Regions from separate parts of the Homo sapiens genome. Here regions 1, 2 and 4 are each linked to region 3. Evidence: promoter capture Hi-C in human tissues and cell types (Jung and others, 2019). All regions are on one chromosome and are shown on one strand. The core of a region is centred on a gene start or on the middle of the fragment in contact, and the rest is flanking DNA. Distances in the headings are between cores, read along the strand shown. Region 1 overlaps ZFAND3 (zinc finger AN1-type containing 3). Region 2 overlaps ZFAND3 (zinc finger AN1-type containing 3). Region 3 holds the start of ZFAND3 (zinc finger AN1-type containing 3). Region 4 overlaps ZFAND3 (zinc finger AN1-type containing 3).

What was found. The method cuts DNA at HindIII sites, captures the fragments that hold promoters and counts their contacts. A contact is called where the count stands out against the background at its distance.
Region 1: a contact is called between a fragment that was not itself captured here and the fragment with the promoter of ZFAND3 in region 3, in 2 of the 25 tissues and cell types used here (IMR-90 fibroblasts and dorsolateral prefrontal cortex).
Region 2: a fragment that was not itself captured here is called in contact with the fragment with the promoter of ZFAND3 in region 3 in 4 of the 25 tissues and cell types used here (adrenal gland, dorsolateral prefrontal cortex, hippocampus and 1 more).
Region 4: a fragment that was not itself captured here is called in contact with the fragment with the promoter of ZFAND3 in region 3 in 1 of the 25 tissues and cell types used here (hippocampus).

What each region holds. Positions count from the first base shown.
Region 1 is chr6:38,130,082-38,133,184 of GRCh38, forward strand. All of the region lies in intron 5 of ZFAND3 (zinc finger AN1-type containing 3), which reads left to right. LOC124901314 (a long non-coding RNA gene) reads left to right here. Exons shown (of 2, transcript XR_007059570.1): 1 at 1-3,103. Among named protein-coding and RNA genes, the nearest start is that of ZFAND3, 310 kb to the left of the region's middle. The HindIII fragment of the contact is 3,667 bases long and covers 1-3,103 here.
Region 2 is chr6:38,102,269-38,105,302 of GRCh38, forward strand. The region is part of intron 4 of ZFAND3 (zinc finger AN1-type containing 3); the gene reads left to right. Among named protein-coding and RNA genes, the nearest start is that of ZFAND3, 280 kb to the left of the region's middle. The HindIII fragment of the contact is 4,358 bases long and covers 1-3,034 here.
Region 3 is chr6:37,818,209-37,821,069 of GRCh38, forward strand. It overlaps ZFAND3 (zinc finger AN1-type containing 3), which reads left to right and starts at 1,519. Exons shown (of 6, transcript NM_021943.3): 1 at 1,519-1,808. The coding sequence starts at 1,738. ZFAND3-DT (ZFAND3 divergent transcript) reads right to left here and starts at 1,179. Exons shown (of 2, transcript XR_007059569.1): 1 at 370-1,179; 2 at 1-282. RefSeq lists enhancers at 726-1,115, 1,085-1,887 and silencers at 1,166-1,545, 1,586-1,815, 1,976-2,145. The HindIII fragment of the contact is 25,591 bases long and covers 1-2,861 here.
Region 4 is chr6:38,085,103-38,087,936 of GRCh38, forward strand. The region is part of intron 4 of ZFAND3 (zinc finger AN1-type containing 3); the gene reads left to right. Among named protein-coding and RNA genes, the nearest start is that of ZFAND3, 270 kb to the left of the region's middle. The HindIII fragment of the contact is 5,011 bases long and covers 1-2,834 here.

The sequences.
Region 1 (3,103 bases), core at 216-2,715, 310 kb after region 3:
GTTTGTTTTGTTTTTGCACCTATTGTAAAAGGGGTTGAGTTCTTTATTTGAGAGCTACTGATTTGTGTACATTAATTTTGTATCCAGAAACTTGCCGATTTATTTAATCAGTTCTAGGAGCTTTCTAGAGGAGTCTTTAGAGTTTTCTAGGTGAACGATCATATCATCCATCAGCAAACAGTGAGTTTGACTTCCTCCTTAATGATTTGGATGCCCTTTATTTCTTTCTCTTGTCTGATTGCTCTGGCTAGGACTTCCAGTACTATGTTGAAGAGGAGTGGTGACAGTGGGCATCCTTGTCTAGTTCCAGTTCTCAGAGGGAATGCTTTCAACTTTTCCCCATTCAGTATTTTGTTGGCTGCAGGCTTGTCATAGATGGCTTTTATTATATTGAGGTATATTCCTTGTATGCTGATTTTGGTAAGAGTTTTAATCATAAAGTGATGCTGGATTTTGTTGAATGCTTTTTCTGCATCTACTGAGATGATCATGTGATTTTTGTTTTCAATTATGTTTGTGTGGTATATCCCATTTATTGACTTGAGTATGTTAAACCATCCCTGCATCCTTGGTATGAAACCCATTTGATCATGGTGGATTATCTTTTTGATATGTTGTTGGATTTGGTTAGCTAGTATTTTGTTAAGGATTTTAGCATATATGTTCATCAGGGATATTGGTCTGTAGTTTTCTTTTTTGGTTATGTTCTTTCCTGGTTTTGGTATTAGGGTGATACTGGCTTCATAGAATGATTTGGGGAGGGTTTCCTCTTTATCTTGTGGAATAGTGTCAATAGGATTAGTACCAACTCTTCTTTGAATGTCTGGTAGAATTCTGCTGTGAATCCGTCTGGTCTTGGACTTTTTTTGTTGATATATTTTTAATTAGCATTTCAGTCTTACTGCTTGTTATTGGTCTGTTCAGGGTATCTAATTCTTCCTGATGTAAGCTAGGAGGGTTGTATCTTTCCAGGAATTTATCCATCTCGTCTAGGTTTTTCTAGTTTATGTGCATAATGGTGTTCATAGTAGCCTTGATTGATCCTCTGTATTTCTGTGTTGTCAGTTGTAATCTCTTCCGTTTCATTTCTTATTTAGCTTATTTGGATTTTCTCTCTTCTTAGTTAATCTTGTTAATGGCCTATGAATTTTATTTATCTTTTCAAAAAAAACAGCTTTTTGTTTCATTTATCTTTTGTGATTTTTTTGTTTCATTTAGTTTTACTCTGATATTGGTTCTTTTCTTCTTCTGGGTTTGTGATTCCCCTCTTAAGGAGTACTTCTAAGAAGTGTGGGCCTCAGCCCAGCGCTTTAGAGTCCTTCTTTAGAAGGTAAAAACGCAGTTCTTTAAGTAATTTTAATGTACCCCCAAGTTAGACCATACTGCCTGTACATTTTATAGACTCATTTGTTCATAGGAAACACCAAGATAATTTAGAAACAAAGAGAATTACTGGAAATTGCAAATGAGTAGTACCCACATCAATGAGGTTTCATATTGGTTCCAGTCACTTCCATTCTCTCTCACTTAGAGATTTATACCTTTTGGGTGTGTAACACATACCTTCCTCCCACTGTTGTCCCCTTCCTTGCCAGACTCAAAAAATCTCAGCAGGCAGGAGTACATGATGCTCTGTAACTTCCCACAGCCCCTATTGGAGTATGTGGCCTGTAGTGGCTGCCCAGTCAGTGGTGACTAATAATGTACAAGAAAAAATGGAAAGTCCAAGAAATGTGGTGTCCTCATGAGCCTGCTGCTTATGATTAGGGGAAAGCCCTTTTGGAACAGTGTTTGAAAGCAGGCCCAACCACAGCTGAGTGGGAATATTTCTGGGCCAGTAGCCATGTAAATTCTTGAGGTCCAGGGTACATGTGCAGCCTCAGGATTTCCCAGTGGATTATTTGGCTGAACGAAAAAGATCCAGATAGAGTGTTTCCCCCCCACCAATTTTTATTGGTAGAGGAAGAAAATAATTCAGACTAGACATATATGCTGTCAGATAGGGTAGTGTCCTTGCTTGCTTGAATTAAAATTATTTGGTATGCTTATGAGTTTAATTAAATAACTCAACTTTGGGGAAGGGTGTACTTGCACAAATAAAACCTGTGTTTGTATTAGTACTTGGACATGAATAAGATGGGTTCTGTGGGCTGGGTGCGGTGGCTCACACCTGTAATCCCAACACTTTGAGAGCCAAGGTGGGAGGATCGCTTGAAGCCAGGAGTTCAAGACCAGCCTGGACAATGTAGCAAAAACCCGTCTCTACAAAAAAATAAAATAAGCCTAGTGTGGTGGCATATGCCATAGTCCTAACTACTCAGAGGCTGAGGGAGAGGAATTGCTTGAGCCTAGGAATTTGAGGCTGCATTGAGCTGTGATCATGTCCCTGCACTCCAGCCAGGGTAACAGAGTGAGACCCTGTCTCATAGAAAACAAAATACATGGGTTCTTCGGAGGTCACAGACCTACTGTGTGTAACCGCACTAGTCTCTGATTCCTGCCTAACAAACTTGCGATTCCTTGACATATAATCCAAGTAATTAAGGTATCTTAGAAGCCATCCATCTGGTGCCAGTCCAGACCCCTAAACTGACGCTGCATAAACCCCATCAGCAGTTTCCTGGCAGGTAGTCCCACTGTGTACATCTGCATGGAGGGAGTGTGGCATCTCCTGCATGGAGGATGTATGGCATCTCCTGTTGCTGGGCAACTTAGATTGACTAGGTGCTTCCTCTACCCAGCTTAAACTGGCCTCCCTCTAGAACACATACTCATTCCCCCTCACTCTGCCCTCCGGAGCAGTCTGTCACAAATCCTCTTCTTCAAGCCTGTTCACAGATTTGAGCACTGTGATGTAAGCTTTCCAGCAGCCCAGCTCCCGCAGTAACAAATTCATTCTCAGAGACCACAGAACTGATATTGGAGCATGAAGGACAGGGTCAGAAACAGGACTGGACTCAGTGTTTGTCTCCACAGTTTTTCTCAGTGAGGCCCTCACAAAACCTGGTGTCTTTTTTAACAAAACCCTTCATCTGGTGATCTCCCCTGAGACAGCTCAACAGTCTTCTCTTCTGTGGAGTCCATGGTTGGCCTCTGTTTATGA
Region 2 (3,034 bases), core at 523-3,022, 280 kb after region 3:
AGAAACACTCACGAGTAGGGTACTTAGGCATCATAGGGGTGGGATAATTTACATGGGAATATCTGACTTTTTGTCTGTATGTGTGTTTTTGATAAAAATTCAGAAAATTTACTTGAATTAGTGTCTCATTCATCTTTACCCATTTCCCCACCTCACCCCTACACTCAGTGTTTCTCCATAAAGGAAATCTATTTTCAGTCTTTTTGGCAAAGGACTCAGGGCCAGATTAGGTTAACCCCTGGGCAAGTCATCTATACTTAGAGACCAAGGTGTTGGGGTACAGCATTATTCGAAGACTTCTAGCTTGTCTCTTCCCTCCAGACCTGTCCAAATATAAGTCAACAGTAGGAGGAAGTGCCCACAGTTGCAGGTACTATCCAGCTGCCCAAAAGTTGTATAATTTTATAAGGCTGAATTTAAATGCCTCTAGGCTTCACGTAACTACAGAGTAGGCAGGAGACTTACTCTGTATTTCTAGAAAGTTTAACTTTTTTGTTTGTTTTTTTGAGGCAGAGTCTTGCTCTGTCCCCCAGGCTGGAATGCAGTGGCGCGATCTCGGCTCACTGCAACCTCCGCCTCCTGGGTTCAAGCAATTCTCCTGCCTCAGCCTCTGGAGTAGCTGGGACTACAGGCGCGTGCCACCATGTCCAACTAATTTTTGTATTTTTAGTAGAGATGGGGTTTCACCATGTTGGCCAGGCTGGTCTTGAACTCCTGACCTCAGGTGATCCACCTGCTGCGGCTTCCCAAAGTGCTGGGATTATAGGCGTGAGCCACCGCGCCTGGCTGGAAGTTTAACTTCTAAATGAATGTTCTAAGAAAATGAAAACAGCATTGCCCATCTTAAACACAGTTACAGTAAGTCCTCACTTAATGTTGTTGATTGATTCTTTCAAACTGCGACTTTAAGGGGAACGACAACAGGTCCTCAGATAACATCATTTGGTTATGACGTTATGAGAAAAAAAGTTGGCTTTGTTATATGTTGTTTTCCTTAAAGTCACAGTTTCTAAGAGCCTGTCAGCAACATTGAGGACTTAACCGTATATGAAAATAAATCTGGGTGTGTGTGTGTGTATGTATATATATATATATATATACACACAATATATATATACACACACACATATATATACACACACACGTATATACACACACATATATATACACGTGTATATATATACACACATATATACACGTGTATATATATACACACATATATACACGTGTATATATATACACGTGTATATATACACATATATATACACACACACATACATACATACACACTTCACGGACTTCTCAAGTTTCTCTCTTTTGGCAGATGAAAAATCTTGGCTGATTTTGCTCTTCTGATAAATACTGCAAAAGATAGTAGAACTGAAGTTCTATCTAGTCTTAACACTGTACGAACACTGTACAAATCTTTGAATTCTTATGGTTATAGACTGACTTGGGGCCAAGGAACAGATTAAAATTAGGGGACTTGGGCATGTGGACTTTGAGAAGTAGATTTTTCTGTTAGGTTTTTCAGTTTTGCTTTTCTGTCTGTTTTGTCTTAACTTAGAGTACTACCTTATTCGGTACTCCACTGATGCTATAAATGTAGTATTTTTAAACATCAATGCATTGTAATGTTGTTGAACTCCAAAATGCCCAAGCATGTTATAAAAAGGAAAGGTTATCTATTGAGGTTCATTTGTCATTTACAATGAGAACTGAAAACTTTATGAGAAAAAAGTAATATAGTTGGGCAGGCAGGAGAGGTCTTGCTGATATGGAGAAGCTAAAACAAGGAAATGGTGCTAGGCTAAGTATCAGCCACAAAGGATGACTGCTGTATTGCTAGCCTGACAGGTTCCACTGACCAGACACCTCTTTGAGGAATTTAGCTCCTGGCAATGCCCTTTCAGTAATTAGTGCAGTGGAAATGGCACTTAACAAACAGGGATGGTGGCTGCAGTTTTTCAATGAACCCATCCTCATCTGTGCCTTTTTGGTAAAGAGACCTCGCGTATGAGCTGTAGGACACTCTCGGGGTGGTTGAGAAGAGGAAGCTTTGACTTCTGCCTGTGAGACCCATATAAAGCTGAGAAGACATGTTTTGCCTTATCTGATAATTAAAAGCAATAAAATTTCAAATGAAAATACCTAGGTTTTCTTGTGCTAATGGGGAGAAGTTTTTTTTGTATCCTACAAGTAATCAGTAAAGAAACTTTTGTGGATGAAGTCTTTAAAAATAACATGCAAGTATCTAAATCCAAGATTAAGCCTAAGATATGACTGGTGGAATGATGTTGTACATCAGAAAAGAAGATAATGAATAAATTAAGTACTATATGACTACAGTCCACAGAAATCCAGAGAGTTAGCAGGAGTGGAAAGAAAATCATGTGAGAAGTCTTATAAATCATATTCTAAGAGCAGAGAACAAGTAGATTTATTCAGCAGAGATATATCCTAGATAAATTAATAATCATATTTGGACAAGATAATTTTATGAAATAGAGGAGCTTGTTTTCATTCCTATATTTGCCCCAGGATCTGTCCCCTGCCCTCATCCCAGAGACAGCTGGGTCTTTGTATACGCAGAAAGTAGCAGAAAGTTGTCTTCGTAATAAGGTACTCTTATGGGAAAGCAGAAGTAGCATCTTTAAGTGTAGCAACTGTTGGAGACAGGATATATAGTAGTTAAGAGCAAGGACTCTAGGCCAGGCTACTCTTCACTTATTTGTTGTGTGACTGTGGGCAGTTCACTTAACCAATGCCTCAGTTTCCTCATGTGTGAAATGCAGGTAGTAGCTACCTCATAGCCTTGTTGTAACACCAAAATGAGTTAATATATGTAAGAGCATTTAGAAGGTGCTGATAAAGAATATGTGCTTTGTGTTAGTGTTCATTATTGCAATTATTAGGAAGCTTAACTTTAAGGAATCTCTTTTGTCATATCCACCTTCCATGATAAGTGGCCTTAAAAATAGGCTTGTACAAGTCCAGGCATGGTGGGTCATGCCTGTAATCCCAGCTACTCCAG
Region 3 (2,861 bases), core at 269-2,768:
AGAGGCCAAAATAAACATCAATGTTAACAAACCCACACAGTATGCACAAACAGAAATGTGATTTGGTATATAAAGAAATAAGATAGCAACATTTGGTAATCAAATTAATCTAGGTAATAGTCTCTCTGAGGCTCTGATATACCCGACAGGCAAGGAGGGTATACGGCAGCTATTCCTAAGAGCCAGGAAGTCTTCCTCAGCGATGGGTCTCCAAAAGGTCTGGAGGATGTTGCCTCCGTGTTGAATTAGTCATCAATAATCGATTTCTCTGTTCATGACTAACTGGAGATCAGAATGAGCTCAGGATCAAGGACTAGGATCGTTAAAGGACTCATTTTTTTAGTGTCTCAAACTTCTTTGGTCACTTACCAATTTCCATTACTGATTCAGCTACAGCTCCCCTTTCCCCTCCAAAAACCAAACGTGTCAGCTGTAGGAAGAAGTGCGGCTCTCCTAGCCTGGGCATAGGGACTCGCCTGGGCATAGATAATGTACTTGTGGCTCTGTGGTTGGGAGTGGAGACAAGGAACTCCCCAACACCGGTGGGGGAGAAGAGACAAGGAAGTTGCCCCAGACAAGGGGCTGGGGGAGGGGCATTTCCCAAAAGTTCCTGTCAAGAGACCAGTATACCGGGTGGAACTATAAGAGTTGTTTGGGTGTGGCGGGACCAGGAAGAGAGAGAGAGATGCCCAGGGAGTTGGCAAATTGGGGAGAATGGCTCCCCGGAATCGCCCAGGAGCCAGAGCGGCAGCTCCAGGGACCTTGACTCCGACGCCCCCGGGAAGCCAGAGCTCCACTTCCGCGTTTGGCATTGCTCCCCCAGGCCCCTCCTCGCACTCGGTTACGGGTTCTACGGGCGCATGCGCCGCCACTCTGGGACTGGCCCAATTTACCCTACACAACTAATCTGCTCCTCCCCCTCCCGCTTGGAGCGCACCATTCGCGTTTAGGGGGAGGCACCGCGCCCCGGAGTACTCAGAAACCTGCTCCCCTTCTTCAGACAGGGGGAAGATAAGTTTGCTTCAGATTCTAAAAGTTCTAAGAATACGAAGGCCTCAGCCGCCCGTCGCCGGGCGACAGCCCGAGGCTCTCGTTTTCTCCCACAGCCCCGCACTCCGCCTTTGAGGCGCGGAACGAAGTGGCACGCCCGGATCCCAGCTGATCAGCGGCTGGGCTTTGGCGTTGGCTCCCCCGGGCGAGACCATTGTGACTCCTCGGGAGGGGCGCACGCCGGGGAGGGGGCGGAGCGGCCATTGTCCGGTCAGCGCAGCCTCCGGGGGAGGGGACGGTGTTACGGAGACAGCAGGGCCCGGGGCTTCAGAGCGGCCGCTGCGACTCCGGAGCCGGCGGGGGGCTCCGGTCCTTCCCTGCGCCACCGCACAGGACATCTCTCTGGCTGGGGAGCGGCGGTGAGACCCGCCGAGGGCGTCTGTGTCCCTCCTCCCCCGCGGTCCTCGGTGCGTCCGCACGCCCCTCCTCCTCGGCTCCCTCCTTCTTCTCTCCGCGCCTCTCCGCCCCCTCCCCGTCTCCGCAGGCCGAGTGGTGCGGCCCGCCTCCAGCTGACCGGCCTGGAATCCCGGCTCCGAGCCCCGGACTCGCGCCCGCCCGCGCGCCCGCTCCTTCCCCCTCCCCCCGCCCCGAGCCCCCCGACGCCGCCGCCACCGCCTCCTCAGAGCGGGGCCCGGGCCCAGCCGCCGCCACCGCTGCCGCCGCCGAGCTCCGCCGCCGCCGAGCACCATGGGAGACGCTGGGAGCGAGCGCAGCAAAGCGCCCAGCCTGCCGCCTCGCTGTCCCTGCGGCTTCTGGGGGTAAGTGCCCGGCCGGGTGGGGGCGGGGGGCGGGGGCCGGGGGCGCAGACGCCAGGGCAGCCTGGGCAGGCCTCGGGGCCCGGGAGGCCGGAACCTTGGAGGCTGGGCCCAGCCCGGGCCTACGGGGAGGGGGTGGGGGTCGCGTTCCGGGGAGGGGTGCCGGGTGGGGAGCTGGGGGTGGGCAGAGAAGGCCCTGCCGGGGGTGCGTTGCTACCCTTTGGGACTCGCCGGCCTGAAGCTCGGGCCCACGGGGGCCTCCTGGGCCACGGGTGAGGGGGGCAGGGCGGCGGGGAGGGATGAGGGGGCGGCGTTGACCGCTCCGGGAGGAGCAGGGGTGCCCCTTCCGTGGGCATGTGGAAGCCAGCCCTTCCTCCCTCCCGGGGCGTGAGTTGGTGCCCAGGCACTAGGAGGGTATTTCCTCTGACTTCTTCACCTCCCCTCCTCCCCGTCCTCCGGAGACTTGCATCATCACTTCCTAGATTATATCCCAGTGCCCCATTTGCTTTTAGGAAGCTATTCACACGTCACCCGTTTGTAAAAACCGAGTCCAGAACCAGGCTGGGGTAAAGTTATAAGATTGTTGAGGTCTCACCTTCATGTAAAACACGTTTCAGGAGATATGTAAAATTTCCTTGTCAAAAAGGAAGAAAAAAACCACACAAAACCTGAAGTCAGCCTGGATTGGGGAATATGAGATCCAGTTTCCTCAGTTGGCTCTCAAATTCTCCTCTTTCTCAATTTAAGTAAAAATGATAAAAATGTTGACAGTGGGTAGCATATATTGTTTGGCCATCATGTGTTAAGGCGAAAAAAATGTGAGGTGGGAAATCAGCTCCTCTTCCTCCCCCCATTACTGTTTAAATTCTCCTGGTAACACTTTAAGCTTCATGGATTGCCACCTAACAGGTGCCTCCATCATACCACATGACTGTAGTTCTGCAGTAAGAAAGCTGGAGACTTTGAAGGCTGGCTTTTGTGATTTGAGTCCCTTTTCTCTTTTATCGTTTTGTTTTAGTTTTATTTTTTGAGAGATTCCGTATATTTGGAGACATA
Region 4 (2,834 bases), core at 93-2,592, 270 kb after region 3:
CTTCTGAACCACCAATTGTTATTGTTATTTTGCTGGAATGTTCTTTGTAGCCTTTATGTCTAGGCTCTTCAAGTTAGGATTCATATCTATGACATGTGCTGTACAGTGCTTCTACTGTGAGGTAGTCTCCCAGACAGAAACCACATGGGCCTTCAGGCATAGATGGTCAGTAAATAATTACTTTACAGTGGTGTCATTTCTTAGGAGACACAGAGTGAGACCTTAAGTGAGATCTTACCTACCTCCTCCCATCCAATCTATCCATACAAGGTTGGACCTAAAGCAGCCTTGAGCTTAATAATGATGTGTGTTAGAACAAGGATACTGAGATTAGACTAAGGTGGTTCTTTAAGTCAGCCGTCTCTGACAAAGGGCACACAATGTACTGTCTGAGGTGTGTGGAGAAAATAGCAAAAGCTCTTTATCTCAGCCTTAATTTATATTTTGCAAATTCACTTTATTATATGTGTGTGTGTTCATACATATACTTTTATTTATTTATTTATTTTTATTTTTTAATAAAGACAAGGTCTTATTATGTTGCCCAGACTGGTCTCAAACTCTTGAGCTCAGGCAGTCCTCTCGCCTTGACCTCCCACAGTGCTAGGATTACAGGCATGAGCAACCGTGCTCAGCCCATACATGCAGTTTATAAACAGCAAATACACACACAAATATATACATATTAAAGGTACATGGCCAGTTAGATAGGACTATGCAGTTTAAAAAGGTTAATGACTTCTTCAGTAAACAGATCATTTTCTTCTTAGTACTTTGAAAATTAGCTCTAAGGATTAGCATTAGACCCATTATTATGTGGTTTAGTAAGTGAAGACCTCAGTGATTGATTAATCAGTCACCATTTGTATTTCAAGCAATTACTGTTTTGATCAGGTGAAGGGTATTGTCATATTTTAGAGGTGGGCAGCAGTGTAGAGTGGTTGGTCTACAACTATCAAAATGAGAGAGGCAGCTCTTTTTTAAGAAATTGTTTTGTGATCACTGTGAGTCTACGAAGCAGATTGCAAAAAGTAGCTGTAGTAGCAAATGAAAGATCAGTTTGTCTTTGTGAGATAGATGGGAAAGACTTTTCTTTATATGATGGCTTTTAGCCAGACAGAATTATTAACAGTTAAACTCATTGTAATCTTTAGATTAAAAAAAAATAAAAAAGCAACACGATGATCATTTTGGTATTTAAACAGAGAGAAATTAGATAGATGAAGGGTGTGTGGTCGTTCCCACTCCACCCCACCCCTACCATCTTTGTAGAGTTCTAGGATCTCCACAGTCAATGAAGAGTTGAAAAGTACTGCCAAGTCCTAGGTTGCTTTTGGTTAGAATGTGTGAGTTAAAGCACATCATACCTTCAGATTACTAGACAGAGTTTACATTTCTTCAGAGCTCAGAATGTTTTCCACATGTTCCCTTGTTAATTCTCACAACATTCCTGCCAAGAACAAGTATTTTGTGAAGGAAAGAGATCACTTTCCTTGGCAACAAACTACAAGAAGATTCCCTTTTGTCCCTCATCTTTTCTAACCGTCAAGTTATACCTTCAGCTAATAAAATACTGTAACCGGAGTTACAGTCATCTCCTTTAATTTTATTTGGAAGGTATTTGGATATTTAGCTGGCTATCTTCATGACAGTATATTTTTATGTTTAAAGTGGGCACAGATTCAATGCAATCCCTATCAAAATACCAGTGACATTCTTCACAGAAATAGAAAAAAATCCTAAAATTTATATGGAACAACAAAAGACCCAGAATAGACAAAGCTATCGTAAGCAAAAAGAACAAAACTGGAGGAATGACATTATGAGACTTCAATTTATACTACAGAGCTATACTAACCAGAACAACCTCAAACTGGCATAAAAAGATATGTAGACCAATGGAATGGAATAGAGAACCCAGAAACAAATCCACACACCTACAGTGAACTCATTTTTGACAAAGGTGCCAAGAACATATACTAGAGAAAAGAAAATATCTCCAATAAATGGTGCTGGGAAAACTGGATACTCATGTGCAGAAGTATGAAACTAGACCCCTGTCTCTCTCCACATACAAAAATAAAATCAAAGTGGATTAAAGACTTAAATCTGAAACCTCAAACTATGAAACTACTACAAGAAAAGATTGGGAGAAATATCCAGGACATTGGTCTGGGCAAAAATTTCTTGAGCATACCCCACAAGCACAGGCAACCAAAGCTAAAATGGACAAATGCGATCACATCAGGTTAAACAGCTTCTGCACAGCAAAGAATACAGCTAACAAAGTGAAGAGACAACCCAGAGAATGGGAGAAAATATTTGCAAACTACTCATCTGACAAGGGATTAATAACCAGAATATTTAAGGAGCTCCAACAACTAAATAGGACAAAATCTAATAATCGATCAAAAAAACAGACAGAAGATTTGAATAGACATTTCTCAAAAGAAGACCTATGAATGGCAAACAGACATATAAAAAGTTGCTCAACATCATTGATCGTCAGAGAACTACAAATCAAAACTACAATGAGATGTCATCTCACCCCAATTAAACTGGCTTATATTCAGAAGACAGGCAATAACAAGTATTGACAAGGATGTGGAGAAAAGGAATTCCTTGTACACTGTTGGTGGGAATGTAAATTATTACAACCACTATGGAGAACAGTTTGGAGGTTTCTCAAATAATTGGGCTCCCATATGATCCAGCCATTCCACTGCTGGGTACATAGCCAAAATAAGGAAATAAGTATACTGAAGTGGTATCTGCACTCCCATATATATTGCAGCACTATTCACAATAGCTAAGAATGTTTCCAGCATGAAATG